Linked DNA regions of Homo sapiens: region 1 is linked to region 2. Evidence: promoter capture Hi-C in 16 types of primary human blood cells and fetal thymus (Javierre and others, 2016). All regions are on one chromosome and are shown on one strand. The core of a region is centred on a gene start or on the middle of the fragment in contact, and the rest is flanking DNA. Distances in the headings are between cores, read along the strand shown.

Evidence for each region. Contacts are between HindIII fragments. The CHiCAGO score rates a contact against its expected background, and 5 or more counts as called.
Region 1: a fragment that was not itself captured here is called in contact with the fragment with the promoter of TP53INP2 in region 2 in 1 of 17 cell types (endothelial precursors); the score reaches 5.4 in endothelial precursors.

What each region holds. Positions count from the first base shown.
Region 1 is chr20:34,187,064-34,189,833 of GRCh38, reverse strand. It overlaps a transcript of ASIP not described here. Among named protein-coding and RNA genes, the nearest start is that of ASIP, 53 kb to the left of the region's middle. The HindIII fragment of the contact is 382 bases long and covers 1,144-1,525 here.
Region 2 is chr20:34,702,810-34,705,604 of GRCh38, reverse strand. TP53INP2 (tumor protein p53 inducible nuclear protein 2) reads right to left here and starts at 1,261. Exons shown (of 5, transcript NM_021202.3): 1 at 1,093-1,261; 2 at 131-247. It overlaps LOC105372599 (a long non-coding RNA gene), which reads left to right and starts at 1,423. Exons shown (of 2, transcript XR_936690.3): 1 at 1,423-1,468; 2 at 1,792-1,946. RefSeq lists a silencer at 986-1,465. The HindIII fragment of the contact is 9,202 bases long and covers 1-2,795 here.

The DNA.
Region 1 (2,770 bases), core at 85-2,584, 520 kb after region 2:
TGACTGGGGTTGGTGGGAGACATGAAGCCTGACCTGGCCCTACAAGGAGGTCTGTAAGGCAGAGGGGTAGAATGCAAGGCAGAGATAAATGCAATGAGGTGACTCCTTTGGTAGAGTCCCCACTTCCTTCAGTTGGTCTCACCTACTCTGAACGTACTTCCTCCCATAGTATTTCAGAGTTTCCCTGTGTTATAATGTGTTATTGTGCACCTATTCACATGCTCCCTTGAGTTCCTCAGGCTGTTCATCCGTGTGGCTTCTCCAGGGTTTGCCTAATACTTAGGGGGAGCAGGGCCAGGTGTGGTGGCTCATGCCTGTAATCCCAGCACTTTGGGTGGCCGAGGTGGGCGGATCACATGAGGTTGGGAGTTTGAGACCAGCCTGACCAACATGGAGAAACCCCGTCTCTACTAAAAATACAAAATTAGCCGGGCGTGGTGGTGCATGCCTATAATCCCAGCTACTCAGGAGGCTGAGGCAGGAGAATCACTTGAACCCGGGAGGTAGAGGTTGCGGTGAGCCGAGATCACGCCACTGCACTCCAGCCTGGGCAACAAGAGCAAAACTCCATCTCAAAAAAAAGAAAACAAACCTTAGGGGGAGCAGTTAAGCTACCCACATGGCCAGAAGTTCTAGGCACCAGACCGTGGCTCTGCTCCTTATTGCTTGAGGTTTTGTTTAACCTCCCTGAACCTCAGTTTTCTCATCTGAAAAATGCCTCACGGTCGTTGTGAGAATTAGAGAATACTCAAAAAGTCTAAATGACAGCACTCGATAGTGTCATTATTGTGACAGTTTCATCTACTACAAATATATTATCCTGTCTTTTTAGAAATTTCTACCATTAAAATGACTCTTTAGGTTAAAGATCTCAGAGCCCTATCATAATGCTTATAGGGAGAAGTATGGTTCTTATTATATTATTGGTCATTATCATGATCCTGAATTGGTTTAGGTAAAGCAGAGGGCAGGAATGGGTCACAAATAGTAATTTTGTTTGGGCTCCGGGTGGGGGAAAGAAGTGTCTCCCAAACTTCAGTCATTTGAATAGCAATGTCAGGATTTCAACCATATCTCCAACCCAGCTATATTATTATTTACTCAATATTTTTCTTTAAATCAACTAATAACTTTTTCAAAGCTTAAATACATTCGTGTAAATTGGAAAATTTATAGCATGTTACTGTCATTTTTCATAAACAGAATATAATCCTAGAAAAAATTAATAATACAATGTCAATAAATTCTAAATAACTACTGTTACCAGGAGAGCACTCCAGTTCTGAGGTCTATTTTCTTGATTAAAAAGGAATATGTTAAAAGGGAATAAGTTTTGGAATATGTTAATGACACATCAACCCCCACTGAGACTTTCTTCTAGATGAATCCAGGCTTGAAAGCAAATTAAAAAGGAAATTACTTTTCCATGATGTGATAATCTTATGCTTGTCCATCTACCGCCTAAAGTCATCTTCTGTTTAACTTAAACCATCTCACATACCACCAGCAGTACATGTTCTAAGCTTTCGGAGACAAAAGGGCTGAAAGCAGGCTAATGAGTTCCCCAAGTAAACTGAAAAAACTAAACTGGCCAACTTCACCTCCTTTACGATTTTGTGTAAATGCTCTACCATCTTGCGTATAATTTCGTTTTTGTATCCCCTTTGGGAACTAGGATAGAATGGCACACATAAATATGCTCAATAAATATCGGGATGCTGGGTATGGGTAAAATGGTAGCAGAACAAGTCGATCTGAATAGGACCCTGGAAGTGCGAGGGGAAGATGGGTTTTCTGAAATACACTCCCTCATTTCCCACAGCCAAACAATTACAGGCTCAGCCTGAAGTCTAAACAAGATGTGGAAATGCCATACACAGCAGAGGAGAATTGGTTCTAAGGACTGAACTATATGAATAATAGTTATTTCTCTCCTTTTGGACTTGGAGATCTGGCTTTTCATAAATAACTATATTTACTCTTGTAATGGTCCTGCCCCATTTTCAAGTGATAGAGTAACTCCAAAGTATCTTTTCCTCTTAAAGGTCATTTATAGTAAGTGATGTGCTTCAGGAGTGTCTTGCACTGAACTGAAAACAAACCATCAAGGAACACTCCTCACCTGCCATATCCAAAAGGCACTCTAGGTTTGTATCCACTGTAATATATCTTCTTGATTTTGTACAGATAACATTAGCAATGGATACATAACATCTGTCACTGCCATTTATAAAATAAAATATCTGAGTCTCTCAAAGACAGTTTAGGAAATTCACGATCCTCCTAAGAGAAAGACGAAAACACCGTCAGTAGATTCTCAGCCCCAGGACAGGCCAGCTTAAAGTGATTAGGCTTGTGGACAGAGATTAAACTGACAAACCTTACACACTTGGCCCTAGCCTGGAGCAGGGGATTGATTTTTTCTCTGAGAAGAACTTTAGAGGCCAAAGGAAAAGACAAGTTGAAAAGAAATTCCTCTCTGAACAGTTACACAGCTAAGGCAAAGATTTCAGAATTCTGCCCCGAGAATCTTTCTTCCCAGCCTAGTTTAGTGCTATGACCAAATACAAAAAAAAGAACCAATTTAGGACTACCACCAGAATTATTTATTTATGACTCTCACACCCCTTTGTGGATCACTGATGGCAAGTTCTAAGTGACTGATTGATTGGTTCTCCTTTGTGCCTCATTGATCAATCAGGGCATTCCCAAAGACTACTAATTATTTCAGTTTTCAACCCAAGTTAAACATAATCAGGAAGTTAAATCC
Region 2 (2,795 bases), core at 12-2,511:
GCCAGGTCAGGCCCTTCCTAGCTGACGACCTAGGAAGTTGGGAAGGTAAAGGGCCAATAGAGGGAACCCTCACCCCACCCTCCACCCCAACATCAGCCCTGGAGACACCCCGAGGCAGCCAATGACTCACCTCTCTGTGATCCAAACAGCTGGGAGGCAGCGATTTTATTGGACTCTAGGACTTCAAGGTACAGTGAGGACAGAAGGGGTCAGGACCACAAAAGGTGAACCAATCTCCAGAGATTCCCTGGAAAAGGGTCCAGGAGTAAGGACACCTAGGAGCCTATCAAACCGTGATAAGGCTGAGCCCAAGATCGGGTCCCCAGTGGAAGGAGGATGTGTATCTTACCACTTGTACTGAGCCCCTATTATGTCTTTGCCCCTGGCTAATAATCCATCTGTCACTCAGTGAGCATGACTCTAATTGGTTATGTGACCTCGAGAGAGCTAATCCTCCTCTCTGGGCCTGTTGCCCCTTCCATGCACTGGGGTCTAAGACCCTTCATTTTGGGTCTAGGAGTGACATCAGCTAAGGCGCTGCACACAAATCAGGGATTAGGAGGATGTTATTCTGTTAGTCCCTGGGGGCGGAGTCTGGAGCCGGAGGGAGGGGATCCCACCACCATCTGGTGCTGTCCCAACCACCTGGAGTCCCATGCAGCCCTGAACTCCTGACGACCCCCTCAACCTAGGCCCAGCAGCGCCGTCTGACTCCTTCTCAGGTTGCAAAGAGAAAGTAGGGGATCAGAGGCCTGACCCCAGCCCCTGGATAAGCCTAGGAAATCGCCGATCCCCCTGCAGCCCCCTTTGGATTGCAGCGTCTCACCCAGGGCCCAGCCCCGACACAGCGGCTACCGGGTCACGGGAGGACAAGCGACCCGAGCCTGTGGGGGCGGTACCGGCCTTGGTGACGTCTCAATGTCATATGCAAATAGAACGACGTCATGGTCTACCGGGCGTGCGGCAACCAATCGGGAGCCGGGAACGCGGCCCCGGCGGCCGCCGGCGGAGACAGACAAAGGCCCGGGCGCGGGGGGCGCAGGGCGTGTCCGTGGCAGGGGAGCCCCCAGGCCCACCCGGGTCGGGACTCACCTGGGGGCGGGAGGGGGGCGGCACGGCGTTGAGGTAGTTGTGCGGCGGGGCGTCCCAGGGTCGCCGGCCGCTCACAGGCCGGGCCGCATCGCCGGGACTCGCGGGGGAGGCGGCGGGGCCGCGGTCGCTCCGGGCTGCTGAGCTCGCCCGCGGGGCTTTGAGTCTGTGCGGCCGCTGCGGCGGGGCTCACGGCACAAATTGGAACGTTCAAACAGCTGATTGTGACGTCACAAAGGGGCCCGCCCGCCTCGCGTCACCGGCTGGCGGGGCGGCGGCCAATCCCGGGCTGCGGATCCCCCCCTGCCCCTCCCCTCCCCTCCCCTCCCGGTTTGCGGGCCGGGCGCTCGGGCCGGGAAACGTTCTCGGAACCGGGAGGGTGAGTGTTCGGGGAGGCAGCTGCGGGGAGCTGGGAGCCCTGCGCCGCGGCGAGCTCTCCGCGAGGAGGATCTCCACTCCCTCCTACCGGCTCCTTATTTTCCTGATTCTTCCCGGATCGCAGCGCCCTCACCTCTCCCACTGCTCCCCAAATCCTTTCACTGCATCCTATATCCAAGTCCCCCGATGCGGACCCTGTTCTCGACCCACACCACGTCCGTGCACCTGCATTCTCCCCACTGCCCTTATTCCTGCTCTCCCTCCCCCCTCTGGCTCACCTCCTCAGCCTTACACACTCTGCTTTCCCACCCCGTTTTTCCTCAGCTCGGCGGGCTTGAGAAAAGAGGGACATCCCCAACCCCCGGTTCCCGGGGAGCATCTGGGAATGTAGAGAAGTTAGTGAAGCTGACGTGAAATTTCGCAGAGTAGGACTTGGAGAGGAATTGCCCTGGGCTGAGTAAACATTGACCTGAGACGGCTCCGCGCTTGAACGTTTACATACCTTATTTAATCTATGTTGCTACCGGGGCTGTAAAGAAGTGGCAGGACAGGGACTGATTATGAGTCCTGATTTACACGTGGGAAAGCTGAGTCTCACAATCTCACTGTTAGCGTGTGAACTCATGTTCAACAATGCATTCAACATTTATTAGGCACCTACTATTGCACCACCATACCACTAGCTGACATGTATTGGCACACTTACTGTGTGCCACGACCTGTGCTATGGGTGTGTTTTTTTATCTTCACAACAACCCAAAAGGTAGATATTGTCCCGTTTAACAGTTGAGGAAACAGACTCAGAGAGCTCAAGTGACTTTCTTAGGTCACAAAAGTACAGTCAATGGCAGAGCCAGGATTTGAACCCATAGCTCCCAGCCCTGACCCTCTCCATTCTCTACATGAACCAGATGGTCTAAACCTCAGGGCGCTTTAGCCTCCCCAGAGTCCTGGCTTTCAGTCCTGACTGTGCCCTAGACTTGCTGTGTGACCTCAAGTCATGTTACCTCTCTGGGTCTCAGTTTGTCAAACAAACATATCCAGGCTTCCCTCTAGAGCTGCCATTGTAAGATTCTTCCACACTCTCTGCCCTCAGGATTCCACCCACCCCACGCTCTAGGCCCCAGCTCTCCCAGTGGCCTGGGAGATGCCCGAGAAGAGACCACAAATACACATATCAGAATCTCCAGGGCCAGAGGTTCTAGGTCAGCAGAGCAGGGCTGGTGGGGGAGGGTCCGAGAACTGCCCACCTAGCCCAAAAGGAGGCCGGAGGTGACCTAGGCCAGAGGTTAATGATCTAGTGATAAAACTTTTTTTTTTTTTTTGAG